Regions from separate parts of the Homo sapiens genome. Here region 1 is linked to region 2. The links are contacts of gene promoters, found by promoter capture Hi-C in blood cells and fetal thymus (Javierre and others, 2016). All regions are on one chromosome and are shown on one strand. Each heading gives the region's core, a stretch centred on a gene start or on the middle of the fragment in contact. The rest is flanking DNA. Distances are from core to core; before and after follow the strand shown. Region 1 holds the start of SLC1A7 (solute carrier family 1 member 7). Region 2 holds the start of ZYG11B (zyg-11 family member B, cell cycle regulator).

Region 1 (7,064 bases), core at 3,303-5,802, 420 kb after region 2:
ATACTTCGTTGGAAATAATTTCCCCTCAGGTTTAGAAGGTGTTTCTCCCTTGTCTTCTAGCTTCCAGTTTGCTTAAGATGTTCAAAGCCATTCTGATTTCCTGTTCCTTAGATGAGGTTGGTTTTATTCCACCAGAACCATCCAAAGATCATCAGTTTATCTCCACTTTTTGGTAATTTCATGGTGATGGGCCATAGTATGGGGTTTTCTTTCTTTTGTAAACAAAATTGACAGTGCTATGCTTGCCTTTCACTTCTGAGAAACTGCTTAGATTCTCTGCAAACTGTTTCTCCTCTATTTTTCTTCTGTTAGCTGTCTCTAAAAGTGTCATTAGGTAGCTGGACATTGAACATTCTAATTTTCTTATATTTTCTTTTTCTATTTTCATTTATTTTTGTTCTAGTTTCTGGGAGATTTCTACAACTTTATCCCAGTTATTGACATTAATTTTTTTTTTTTTTTTGGAGATGGGGTCTCACACCATGTTGCCCAGGCTGGCCCTGAATGCCTGGGGTCAGGCAATCCACCCGCCTTGGCCTCCCAAAGTGCTAGGATTACAGGCATGAGCCACCAGGCCTAGCCAAAGTTTTTATATTAATATATAATATTTGTACATATTTATGGGATACAGTTGGTATATTGTTAAATACACTGTGTAATGTTCAAATCAGGGTATTCAGGGTCTCCAACACTTCGAGTATTTATCCTTTCTATGTGTTGGGCAGCTACTCACATTTTTATCTTAGTTCTTCTATTTTTAATTTCCCCAGATTCTTTCTTGTTCTCTGATTGTTCCTTCTTTTCACATCCCCTCTGTTGTACGGTAACTATATCTTCACTCGCAGCTCCAGAAAGCTTAAGAGGAGATTTACAAAGCTTCCTTCTCCTCCCCGCCTTGTCTCTGCTTCACTAGAGACCCACTTTTCTCTTTGTTTCTCTCATTAGAGACCCCCTTTTCTCTTCGTTTACTCTGTTTCACATTAGGAGCCTCCTCACATTTCTGGTGGCGTGGCTTTCTGCTCGTATGTAAGTTTGAAGCGCTAAACTTCTGCATGTATGAGTAGGGTTTGTCAACTGACGGCCCTCAGGGCAGGGTGACAGGTGCTGATCTGGCTTTTTCACTGGGGCTGGGTGGGATGGTAGAGGAGTCTCCTTTATAGCAGAATTTAGAGATCTTTTCTCTGAGGCCTCAGTGAGAGAAGTCTCTTCCTGCCTTTGGCTGAGGAATGACATGGTGCCTAAGCTCAGCTGACAGCGATCTGAAACCGTGCTGGGGACCCCACTCAGACAAGGATGTCTGTTAATTAGTTTGAAGTAGGTGCCTCAGCATGGCCCTCTCCCCAACACACACAGGGGTGGCCCAATACCCTCAAGTCCAGCTTCTCTGGTTCCTTGGGGCAGGCAGTGGGTGGAGATGGGTGGATGAGTCCCCCAACTGAATTGGAAGGTCCCTAGGGGTCTAACTGCTCTGGTTACAAAACTCCAAACCATGCCCAGGCTTTCAACCCCAGCCTCACCCTGCCTAGTGCAGCATCTTGCTCTGTTACGTTCTGGAGTCTGCAAGACAAACTGACTTGGTATCAACTTCCACAGACTAAGATTCCAGCTTTCTGTGAATGAGGTCATCAGCTCCACCCACCTCCATATTATCTAATTTGTTGTAGCCTCTCTATTTCTTTTTCTCAACTGTCTCCTTTTATATTCTCTTTATTCTTGGTGGTTTTACCTTTTAAAAATCCCATTACTAAAATGTTAGTGGAATTCTAGGAAGGAGGGAAAAAAATGGATACACCTGTGATTCACCATGGTTTAACTGGAAGTCTCAAAATGCTCAGTATTTTTAAATGAGACACTCATACACCAAGATAAAATCCTGTGATTTTATCAAGGATAAAAGTTCTTTTTCACAAATAGAACATTCTACCATTTTCCATATTGTTTATGATTTTTGCCTGTTGCATAAGCTTACAAAACAAGAAGTGTTTAGTTTCTGAGTCACAGGCAAAGAGATCAAACAGAGAAATCCCAGATTTCAAAGTAAGATGCTGAGAAAGCCAGTTTCTGCCAAATAATTGTTCTAAGCCTCTACATCCTTCCTTCAATTTATCTGGCAGGTTAATCCAGACTGGAATACATTTGCATTTCCAAACAGATGGGAAAGGCAGCTTTGGCAAAGTAGGCCCCAGATGAGTTTGGCTTTTAATAATAGGCATTCCAATTTGTTTTCACAAAATAATCTTCCTGCAGGAGATATATTTTTGTTGCTGAGGAAAATTAAAGAGAACAGATTGCAGATTTTTTTGTTCCATTGCCAGTTTAATGCAGCAGATAGTTGAGCGTTCTCTCTGTGCCTGACACAGGGCTAGGCTCACGTTTTGGTTAAAAAAAAAAACAAACCCATATGTTGTTCAGCAATATGCAGCTTGGTGGGAGAAAGAGACACCCATATAACCAGCTCTGAAGCCAGGCAGCCAGCAGCGGGGTTACAGTTACTTTCATCAGCTATGGATGATGAGATGGTTCCTGATGTAGATAGGACTTTAACAGGTACATAAGGGAGGGAGGGGGAAGTAACACGTAGTAAGCACCTACTGTATGCTGGGCATTGATGAATCCTTGGTTTATTCCTCATAATAATTCTAGTAGACATATACTGCCCCACATCCCATTTTACAGACAAGGAAACTGAGGCCCAGGGAGGAGAGAGGATATTGCCTAGCCATTTGCTAGCAGAGTCAAAGTTCAGGGTTTCTCTGCCTCCAGAGTCCATGCTTCTTCCTAAATAACTGCTCGAGGCTTAACAGGGTCACTATAGTCGTGGCTCAGTTCTCCAGGAGTGGGTGTTTTCCTTTTAATGGAAGACAAAGTCTAATGCCTGACCCCAGTTGTAGAGATGGCATTAGACATTAGTGAGCTGCGGGAAGAGGACTTTCTGGGAATAGGGACTCTTCCAGGAGCCCATTGACAAAGCCTCTCTCCTTGACCACACTTTAGACAGGCTCCTCTGAGCCCTCTTTTCCACTGGGCTTTGTCCTTGGGCCTTGTCTTCAGCCTGCATAGTCCAGCTGTAGCAAAAGTCCTGCCAAGTCAGTTTAGTGAGGATCCCTCACCCTCCAGCATCCTGATACTGGATCAAATTCCTCATCCCAGATCAATGTCTGATCACCCTGGCCTGCCTTCAACAAGAATCCCCCTACCCTGATGTCTCCTGTAGTCATTTTCTGTCCCCGACCCCCTCCCTCTGCTCGCTGGCTATAAATCTCCAGCCATCTTTGTTGTATTTGTGGTTGGGTCCCATCTCTCTCCCCAGGAGGTCTTGATAACTACCCCCCTACCACAATAGTCCTGAATAGAGCCTTCCTTACCAGTTTAACTAGTGGCAGAATGATTTTGTCCTTAACACCATGGGAATGTCCCTCCCTCTCCTGTAGGAGATGGGGGCTGACAGGGAAAGGGGCTCTTTCCCAGGAAACGCAGCTTCTTCATGGCAGTTACACAGGCTGGAAACCCGGGGCCTGGCTCCCCTTCCTGTCCCCCAGCCCACATCCAATCGGCCCCCACATCCTGAAGCTCCCCCTTTTGAAAACAGTTCTCACGTCTGTCCCTTTTGTCTGCACTGCCGCATCTCCCCCAGGCTGCCCCTTCTCGGCCCCCTGCCTGCCCCAGAATCACCCCCTCTCCACTCAGCACCTGAGGGGTCTCCCAAGCTCCAAACTGGCCTGTCGCTCTTCTGCCCAAAAGCATCTCATGGTTGCCGCAAGCCCACGTGTGGCGATGGGACCTATGGGCCTGCTGGCCTCTGCGCTCCGGCCGCTGCACCTGGCATCTGCTGTCACCTCTGCCTAGAGCACGCTTCCTGGATCTCTTGTCATTTGAGCAGCCTTTAGGAGGTGTTCTCTGGTGCCTGTTTGAACTCACACAAGACCCCCCTCTTTCCCCGCCACAGCTCTTGGCCCTGTGTTTGTCATCATGAGGCACCCTCGCCTCTCCTCACCTGATGGTGCTGGGTTTGTAATCACTCCCCAGCCACATCACTGGTTCTTCCCTCTAGTCCTGCAAAGTGTTTATCACACCCATGTTACAGATGAGAAAACCAGGACCCAGAGAGGCAGAGGGATTCACACACTGTCATGGCACCAGGGAGCTGTGATGCTAGAACGGGACCCCAGATCCCTCAGGCCCACACGCCCCTCCTGGACAGGGGTCCCGAGATGCTCTGGGTGGCTGACCTGTGGTGAGAGGCGCCGGGTCCTCAAGAAGAAGCCGAGGAGGCAGCCCACGATGACAGACAGCACAGACAGGATGAGGAGTCCATTCCGCCTGCACACGTCCCTCCCCCGTGCCAAGATGGCATGCGGCACCATGGTGAGCCTGGCCTGCTGGCAAGGGGCACAGCACCATTCCACGCATGAGAGCCCGGCCGGGGGCACAGGGTCTGGGCTGAGGGCTCTAGCCCCTCAGCAGGCAGGTGGTCGGAGTTGCTAAACACCAGTCGCCAGCCCCACGGCCATGCCCGTGTGGCCGCCTTAGAGGGAAGCCACAATCCTATTACCAGCTGCATCATTAGGAGCTGGGAGCAGATTAGGGCCTGGGAAATTAGAGCAGACCACGTGGTCTAGGAGTTCAGGCCTCAAAGCCAAGCGTTCCTCTTAAACAGTTGAGTGGACCAGGTACTGGAAGGAACAAGAGGAACATTTGCTTGGTTGGTTTGATCTTTACCCCTGCTTCCTTCCAGAAAGAATCAAAAACAAGACAGTAAGATATCAGTTTCCCTCAACATTAATTAAGCATTTACTATGCACCAGGTGCCATTCTAGAAGAGTGTTACATGTACTGGCATATTTAATCCTAACACCAATCCCAAGAAATAAGTACTATTAATATCACCATTTTACAGATAAAGAAACTGAGGTGGGTGGGTGCATGTGCTGCGGGCCAGGCCTGTGCTGGCTGCCTTAGCTATGCCAATCATAGGGAATTGTCCCAAAGATCCCAGGGTTCCCACCTTCATTTTTCAGAAAGGGAGGCTGAGACCCCAGAAGCCAGTCCCTTGGCCATGGTCACAGAGGTCAGAAGTCAGGGCTAGGCCAGTCTGTTTCCACCACATGAACAGGCAGATAGGTTCAAGGGTGCTTGGCAGTATTGTGGGGAATGTAGATTCGAGTCCAGGGGACCTGAGTTCAAAGGTGGGCTGTGCCACTCACCGGGAAATGGGACGTAGATGCTTCAGGGCTGTTTCAAGCCTGGTGCTGGGCACCCTGCAGGCTCTCTGGGCCTATTATTTTTTAAAGATGACAGAGCCCAAGAGACCCACATTCGGGTCCCAGCTCTGCCACTTACTAGCTGTGTGACCTCAGACAAGCATTTCATCTCACTGTGCCTCAGTTTCTCCATCTGTAAAATAGAGATGATAACAGCATCTACTTTGTTAGGGCTGGTACAAAATTCCACCCAGAGGGTATTTGGAAACGCAGTGTGAACCCTGGTGTGCTGAACAGGGGAACGGACTCTTAGGGTCATTATCACACTTAGTGCTTTGGAGAATAGGTGTCTTTTTGCTATTTCTTGTGGCCTGGCCTGCCCTGCCCTGTAAAGCCTGGGGGAATTAACCCTCGTCTATTTCACCAGAGATCTGTAATCTCATTAGGAGCAGTCAGGCAGCAGGCAGCAGGGAATGGGAAGTGCAGTCTGCAGTGAGGGTGGGAGGTAAAGGGTGGGGTGCACACAGGGGCTTCCTCCTCCTGACATAGGAGACAGGGGCAGAGGATGAAGAGGACGGGCCAAGTGGGGCATAGGGGAGAGGTGGGGAGAGGGGACTGGGGCACAGGCTCTGAAGCCATGGACAGAGCTCCTGACTGAGAAGATTCTGATCCCAATTTAATCAGCTCTGTGACCTTGCCGTCTCTGGGTATCAGTCTTGTCCTTTTTAGAATGAGAGAAATGGGCCCAGGTACCTTTGTCAAAGGAACTTCATTTCAACAAACCAATCTTCCAAAGCCCCTGCTCTTTGCAGTAGCTTGGGGTGGGGGGTGGGGGTGAATACAAGTCTGAGAGTTTTTTTTCCTCTGACTTTGACTCTTAAAACCAAAAGTTTCTTGCTACACCTTCAACTCCAACAAATGCCTCATTTTCCAAATAATCAGGTGGTTAGTTACTTCCCAGAAGAGAAAATATGCTAAGTAGGTATTTGGATTTGGGTTTTGATCAACTCCTGGGCTCAAACAATCCTCCCATCTTGGCCTCCTAACGTGTTGGGACTGCAGGCATGAGCCACCACACCCAGCCCAGACCTGGCCTTTAGCTGTGCCATGATATAGGTGAGTCTTGCTTTCTACCACAGCTCCATGACTCCCATTCCCAGGACGTGCCCTATAGCCACCACTGACTCCTCTCTCCCACAGGCTGAGCCTACCACTACCTGCCTACCAGACTACAGCCATTCTTTCCACTGTTCCTACGGTCTTCAACAGGAGAATTTCAACTCACTCTAGCAAATGTTCTTATAGCACCATTTAGTGTGCCACACCCCCTGGGTACTAGAAACACAACAGTGAATCAGACAGTACCTGCCCTGCCTTCAGGAAGCTTATAAGAAAGTGGAGAGACCCCAAGAACGGACTAATTCACACTAAAGTGTAAGTGACTGATAATGAGTTTACTAAGAATATTTGCAAATCAAATCAAGTCTCCTGGGTCAGAACCCTATAATAGTTCACCATTGACAAAGAATCAACTGCCTTTTACAATGTCACTAGATGTGCAAGACAATTTTTCCATAATTACATCAAAAGGAAGTTTGGGAAATGCTGGACGAAACAAAAAGTTAAGCACGTTATTTCCTCTGAGACAGCTCAAAGTCAGACTGCTAGAGTTAAAACCTCAGCTCTACCTTCAACCAGCTGTGTGACCTTGGGAACATTTCTTAACTTCCCTGTAAAATGGGGATAATGCAACAGTACCTAGATCATAGGGTTTTGATGTGGGTCATACAGTGCTGCATGCGCCATGGTTAGAGCGTGGCCCAGTGCCTTGCAGATAGCCCCAGGTAGTTACTATGAAAGTCT
Region 2 (7,529 bases), core at 3,803-6,302:
GCAGGCGTCCGCCACTGCGCCCGGCTAATTTTTTGTATTTTTAGTAGAGACGGGGTTTCACCGTGTTAGCCAGGATGGTCTCGATCTCCTGACCTCATGATCTGCCCACCTCGGCCTCCCAAAGTGCTGGGATTACAAGCGGGAGCCACTGTGCCCGGCTTTTTTTTTTTTTTTTTTTTTGAGACGGAGTCTCACTCGGTCATCCAGGCTGGAGTGCAGTGGCTCGATCTTGGCTCACTGCAATCTCTGCCACCCAGGTTCAAGCGATTCTCTTGTCTCAGCCACCGGAGTAGCTGGGATTACAGCCGTTGCCTGTAATTTTTGTAGTTTTAATAGAGACGGAGTTTCACCATCTAGGTCAGGCTGGTCTTGAACTCCTGACCTTGTGATCCACCTGCCTTGACCTCTCAAAGTGCTGGAAGCCACTGTGCCCGGCCTAATTTTGTATTTTTAGTAGAGATGGGGTTTCACCATCTTGGCCAGGGTGGTCTTGAACTCGACTTCAAGTGATCTGCCTGCCTGGGCCTCCCAAAGTGCTGGAATTACAGGCGTGAGCCACCATGCTCGTTCTTCTTTTTTACATTTTAATATTTGATATATTTGAAATTTGTCTTGGTGAATAGTGTGAAGTATAAATCCAAGTTAAAATTTTCTAGATGTCTATCCAGTTATTCTAACACCAAATACAATTCCAACTTTTGCTTTCTGACTTGAAATGCTACCTTCAGTATTATACTAAATTCCTAGGTAATTTGGATGTATTTTTGATCTGTTTGTGCTTCATTGATTGCAAATCAAGCAAATCAACTGTGACTCCATTCTTTCTTGATTGCAGAACTCTTATTTATTTATTTATTTTTGGAGATAGGGTCTTACTCTGTCACACAGGCTGGAGTGCAGTGGCGTGATGATGCCTCATAGCAGCCTCGACCTCCAGGGCTCAGGTGATCCTCCCACCTCAGTCTCTTGAGTAGCTGAAACTACCACCATGCCCAGCTACTTTTTGGTATTTTTTTGTAGAGATGGGATTTTGCCATTTTGCCCAGGCTGGTCTCAAACTTTTGGTCTCAAACCATCTGCCTGCCTTGGCCTCCCAAAGTGCTGGGATTACAAGTGTGAACCACCTTGGCTGGCTAGAACTCTAATTTTTTTTTCTTTCTTTTTTTTTTTTTTTTTTTTTGAGAAGGAGTCCCTCTCTGTCGCCCAGGCTGGAGTGCAATGGAGTGATCTTGGCTCACTGCAACTTCCGCCTGCCGGGTTCAAGCGAGTCTCCTGCCTCAGCTTCCTGAGTAGCTGGGACTACAGGTGCGCACCGCTACACCCAGCTAATTTCTTTTGTATTTTTAGTAGAGATGGAGTTTCACCATGTTGGCCGGGCTGGTCTTGATCTCCTAACCTCATGATCCACCCACCTCAGCCTCCTAAAATGCTGGGATTACAGGCCTGAGCCACCACACCCAGCCCAGAACTCTAATTTTTAATGACGATTTTCCTCCACTACAAGGAAGTCCTTAGGGAAAGTAACTCACAGATCAGACGGAGAGTAAATCATGATTGGTCTAAGCTACTATTGTTGGTCCTATTCTCTTTGGTATTTATTGGCTTATCCATGGTACTTGAGGGGAAGTCTATTGAGTAACTACTAAGAAAAATTGTAGCTTACTAGACATATAAGGGGATATGTTTAGCTGGCAGTTAGATATTTAAGTATGAAATTCAGAATGCAGATATAATTTTGGGGTTATCACAGCATAGATAATATTTAAAGTAATGTGTTGGGATAAGATTATCAAGGAGTGTACATGCAAAAGACAAAAAGTCGAAATATTGAGCCTTGGGGTACTACAGTATTTAGAGGTCAGAGAAATGAGGAGAAACTAGGAGCAGCCAGTGAGATAGAAGACCCGAGGGGGTGAAATGTCATGGTAGCCAAGGAGGGGGAAGTAATGAGCTGTGTCTAGTGATGTTGGTAGGTCAAGTAACACGAGGACTGAGAATTGACTGGTGTCAGCAAATGGACACCACTAGTGACCTTGACAAGGGCATTTCAGTGGAGTGGAGGAGGTAAAAGCTTAACCAGAGAGGATCTCACCGAAAATGAGAAAAAGGAAGTCAAGGCCAGGCGAGGTGGCTCATGCCTGTAATCTCAGCATTTTGGGAGGCCAAGGCAGGCAGATTGCTTGAGCTCAGGAGTTCAAGACCAGCCTAGGCAACATGATGAAACCTCATCTCCACAAAAAATACAAAAATTAGTTGGACGTGGTGGCACATGCCTGTAGTTCCAGCTACTTGGGAGGCTGAAGTGGGAGGATTGCTTGAACCCAGGAGGCTAAGGTTGCAGTGAGCTGAGATCGCACCACTGCACTCCAGCCTAAGCAACAGAGTGAGACCATGTACAAGCCACCTTTGTGAGACATTTTGCAGAAAAGAGAATGGAGAAATGGGGCAGTAGGTGGGGGGTCAAGTCCAGTCAAGAGAGGGTTTTTTTTTTTTTTTTGAGGTGGAGTCTCGCTCTGTTGCCCAGGCTAGAGTGCAGTGGCGTGATCTTGGCTCACTGCAACCTAAGGAGGGTTTTTTTGTTTGATTGTTTTAAGATGGAAGAAATAAAATCATGTTGCTATAGCAATGAGAGGTAATAGCAGAAAAATAGCGATGTAGGTGAGAGGAAGAATTGCTGGATAGGTGTCTTTGAGAAAGTGACGTGGTATGAGACCTAGTACTTGAGCTCCTCAAAGTGTCATCAATGGACTAGTGACCATCTAGAAATGGTTTTTCACCAGTTTGTGACAGCAATTCAGAATTAATATTTTGAAACTTTTATAACAATTTGACAGAAAAATGTTACGCGTGTTGGGTTTAATAATAAAAATTCTGCCTAGAGTAGTCAAATTCATAGAGATAGAAAGCAGAACAGTGATGGCGAGGGATTGGGGGAAGTTAGGAATGGGGAGTTATTGTTTAATGAGTACAAGCTTTCAGCTTTGCAAGATAAAAAAGTTCTGGAGGCCTGGCACATTGGCTCACGTCTGTAATCCTAGCACTTTAGAAGTCTGTGGCAGGAGGATTACTTGAGCCTAGGAGTTTGAGACAAACCTGGGCAACACAGTGAGACCTTGTCTCTACAAAAAAAAAAAAAAAAAAAGGTAGCCAGGCGTGGTGGTATGTGCCTGTAGTTCTAGCTGCTTAGGAGGCTGAGGTGGGAGGATCGCTTCAGCCCAGGAGTTTGAGGCTGAGTGAGCCGTGATTGTGCCACTGTACTCCTGATGGGTGACAGGGTAAGAACTTGTCTCAATAAATAAATAAATAAATAAATAAAAGAAAAAATAAAAAGTTCTGGAGCTTCTTGATGGGGATGGTTGCACAACAATGTGAATGTATTTAATACCATTGAACTGTACACTTTAAAATGGTTAAGCAGGTTTAAAAAATCTGGGCTTGCATTTTGGATGCTTGTTTTTAAATTTTAATTTTTTCTAGTAATTAATTTTGATTGTATTTTACAGAAATTTAGTTTTGTGATTGGGGATAAAATCTGGGTCTTTTAGCACAGATGCTTGAGAACTGAGGAGGATTTGATGTTAGCTAAAAGACAAATAATTAACTTGTAGTAAGGAAAGGAAGGCAGAGAGAGCATCAAAGCAGAGTTACAGGTTCGTTGGAAGTCATGGTGGGTGCTGGGAACTTGTAGATGTTCTTTTTGGTTTGTTTGATTTTCTTGTGAATTAGAAGCAAAATCATCAGCTAAATGAGATGAGGGAGGAAGTGTCGGAGGTTTGAAGAGACAGGAGACTTGAAATAGTTATGTAGCAAGGTGGGAGAGTGTGTGAAACTGGAGAAATGTGGTAGGGTAGCCACTCATTATGGCCTCTTGAGAATAATGATCTCAAATTTACGGGGAGTCAGTCAACCACTTTTGGCTTTTTCTCCACCCACTCCATTGCTGGAGTTCTGTCAGTACAAAGAAAGCAGAGAACGACTAGAGAAATGAAGGTAATACTGAAGAAATCGACTTCATGTACCTCATGTACTCACTTTCTTCCCCAAACAGCTTAGATTCTATTAGATTCCATTTCATGACGGACGATAGAATCTAAGCTGTTTCAGGAAGAAAGTGAGTACATAAGGCCAGCGTGGGGAGGAATAGCGAAAAGGTAGTTGGATCAATGGATTTGGGGTCTTGGAGTTGAAGTTTTTGGAGTTGGAGTATTATCAGACAGAGTGAGCTAGAAAGGAAGAAGGTTGTGGCCGGGCGCAGCGGCTCACGCCTGTAATCCCAGCACTTTGGAAGGCCAAGGCAAGCGGATCACCTGAGGTCAGGAGTTCGAGACCAGCCTGGCCAACATGGTGAAGCCACTTCTCTACTAAAAATACAAAAATTAGCCGGGTGTGGTGCCGGGTGTTTGTAATCCCAGCTACTCGGGAGGCTAAGGCAGGAGAATCACTTGAACCCGGGAGGTGGAGGTTGCAGTGAGCCAAGATCGCACCACTGCACTCCAGCCTGGGCAACAAGAGCGAAACTCCATCTCAAAAAAAAAAAAAAAAAAGAAAGAAAGAAAGAAAGAAAGAAAGGAAGAAGGTTGCAATGGGAGTTAGAGGATTAAAATTGAGATTGTAGAGAAGTTACAATTATTCGTATGAGCATGAGAGTGAGAGGCTGAGCCAAGAATGATCCCTAGAGAAGAATCTGAGAGGCCAGAGGATTGGAAGAATTAAGCGAATTTTGAAATAACCAAGAGTTATGACAATAGTAGTAATGAATGACAGTGAACCAGAAGCCCAAATCTTAGAGAATGATGGTGAATGACAGAGGAGTCTATAGGTGACCGAAGTGAGCGATGCTCTAATCTCTCGTCATGATGTAATATTTAAAGCTTTTCATATTTTGAAGGGATGCTAGGATTTGGGGGTGTGTGGCTCCTTTAAGGGCCTGGGAGGGGGAGAAGCTGGAGGTCGGGCTGGGGGGGGCGGGACCCCCTCGTCTGAGTCTGCGCATTGAGAGCGGAGGCGGGTCCAGGCGCGGGCTCGCGCGCCCGGGCGGGTCCTCGCGGGGGCGGAGTCTGCGCTCTGGTTCGGGCTGCGGCTGCGGCTGCGGCTGCGGCTGCTACTGCTACGCTCCTAGCTTGAGGGAAAGAGGCCGAGGCCTGGGCCAAGCCCGGAGCCGCCGCTCGCCGGAGCCTCCTGGAGCCTCCGCGCCGGCTCAGCCTGGGGGCGGGCTCCGGTCCGGCCCGCCGCCGCACCCAGGACGGAGGCTGCATGCCCGAGGACCAGGCCGGCGCAGCCATGGTGAGGGAGCAAGGCCTGCCCTAGCCGCAGCCGCCCGCCACCCTAGCCCCCGCCCGTCGCGCTGGCCCCTGCGGTCTTGCCCCTCCCTGTCTCTGGTGTCCCCTCGGGCTCCCTGCCTTTACCTCTCTCCCTCGTTACCGCCCCCTCGGTGTTCAGCTCCTCCTTCCCCATTCACCTGCTTCGGTGAACCCCTTTAGGTGACACCCCCTGAATCTCCCTTCTCCCCGATGACATCCTTTTTATCACCCCCAGTGACAGCCTTTTTCGCATTCCCTTTGTCGCCCACTCCTTGTCCTTTAACCCTAACCCTTCCTTTCTTTCTCCTCTATCATTTTGCCTTTTTTCCTCTTATGTGATTTTTACTTTCCCCCCTTTCCTCCCTAGTTTTCGCTGCTCTTCCTTGCTCTTCTCACCCCTCTTCACCATTTTATCTCCACTGCCCCCTTCTCTCCGTGTTCCTTCTCCCCTTCGTCCTCTTCCATCCACGTTTCCTCTTCCCTTATCGGATGTCCTCGCTCGGTTCGCCGTCGCAGCTGTCCCCATTTCCTTCTACGGGCTTCAGGGGTCTAAGCAGGAACAATTTGAGGACTGTTGCTTCCCGGGAGCTGTAGGGCGGGCAGATAGGGATTTATAGGTTTGCTTCTTCCTTTTCGTTTTTGGAGGCATTGAAGAGATCCTGGAAGCCTATTCACCTAGTGTCATTGCAAAATCGAAGTGGTGGTGTGTTACAGAGCAGTGAAGTGAGGGCCAGCATGCATACTGTGACCTCAGGAGAGATCTAGTCTTTTGACAGAAATAGCTAAAAAATGTTTTGAATTTTTTTTATTTTGAGCATCTTTTAATGTGGAGGTGCAGTTGGAGAAGTTTAAAAATACTTATTTACAAGCTTGGCTATTATTACTAAAAACAAATGATTTGTTTTCATTTGGAGGCAGAGACCAAGGGCATTTGAGGACTGACAATCAGGTTGGCAGGTTGTGACAGTCTCTTTAAACCTTCTAAAGAGTTCATTTGTTTTGCCCTGTCTGCCTTTAGTTGGGAGAACCTTATATTTGCAAATTTTCTTTCTGTCTGAAAATAGGTTGAGGCTTCAGTTGGTTTTTTCATTGAGTTGGGTTATAAGTGGTTTGCTGTACATTTATTGAAAACATTGCTCCATCATATGCAACAAGCTAAATTTTGGTCTCTGGGAGGAATAAGGCAAAACTAAGTCCTGATAATTATGTTCCCCTAGGAGGTTAGTCAGTTTCTTTTTTTCCCTCCAGCAGTTTTTTAGAAAAGTAATATACTATAAAATTATTTAATCTATGAATTTTCCCTAACTCACTCCTGCATTTTTAGTCTGTCATTTTCCTGTGTTTGTCTCCTTCACTTTCACACACTGTTGTTGTATGCTAACCTGTTTCTCCCTGTGGAATGTAAGTTCTAGGTAGCAACCGTTCCTTACTTATTATTCCAAGTGCCCAGGCCAGCTAGGTGCTTGAATGATTCACTTTATGGTCTCATTTCCCACCTGACTAATATAAACTTAAACTGAAATTTGAGGTAACTAGTGGACTACACAGAAAGAGTGAGTTTGAGAATTGTTGTTTGGAGACGATCTTGCTCTGTGGCCCAGGCTGGAATGCAGTGGCACAATCATGGCTCTTTGCAACCTTGAACTCCTGAGGTCAAGTGATCTTCCCACCTCAGCCTCACAAGTAGCTGGTACCACAGGCACGGACTACCGTGCCCCGCTAATTTGTAAAACTTTTTGTAGAAATGGAGTCTTGCTGTGTTGCCCAGTCTGGTCTTGACCTCCTGGATTCAAGCCATCCTCCCACCTTGGCCTCCCAAAGTGCTAGAATTACAGGCATGAGCCATCACGCCTGGGCAGAGAATCTTAATTTTGATGCAAAAATGATATTGAGTGAGGTATGATGATATACTTTTCAGAATAAAGAGCTATCCTACCTAAGACATTACACTGCTAGATTTTTGAAAGTGTGGGCCCTTCCATTGAGAATGAATGTATGAGAGGGAGGAGTTATGAACTCCCCTTTGAGGTATTTAGGATCTAAAAGTGTCCTTTGAGCTGGGCCTGAAAGTTGAATAGGATTTATATAGATCATTTTGGGAAGGGGAAGAATGCCTCATTGTGAATGTGAGTAGCAAGTAGAAAGGATCCCCTCACAGGGATTTTTTTTTTTTTAAGAAAGAAAGTAGGAAGGAATTAGGATGCATTGTAGGAAGTAGTATTACCCTTA

What was found. The method cuts DNA at HindIII sites, captures the fragments that hold promoters and counts their contacts. A CHiCAGO score of 5 or more calls a contact.
Region 1: a contact is called between the fragment with the promoter of SLC1A7 here and the fragment with the promoter of ZYG11B in region 2, in 1 of 17 cell types (endothelial precursors). The highest score is 5.7, in endothelial precursors.

What each region holds. Positions count from the first base shown.
Region 1 is chr1:53,138,086-53,145,149 of GRCh38, forward strand. It overlaps SLC1A7 (solute carrier family 1 member 7), which reads right to left and starts at 4,553. Exons shown (of 11, transcript NM_006671.6): 1 at 4,230-4,553. The coding sequence starts at 4,364. The HindIII fragment of the contact is 4,621 bases long and covers 1,963-6,583 here.
Region 2 is chr1:52,721,401-52,728,929 of GRCh38, forward strand. ZYG11B (zyg-11 family member B, cell cycle regulator) reads left to right here and starts at 5,053. Exons shown (of 14, transcript NM_024646.3): 1 at 5,053-5,283. The coding sequence starts at 5,254. RefSeq lists a silencer at 4,864-5,443. The HindIII fragment of the contact is 1,298 bases long and covers 4,870-6,167 here.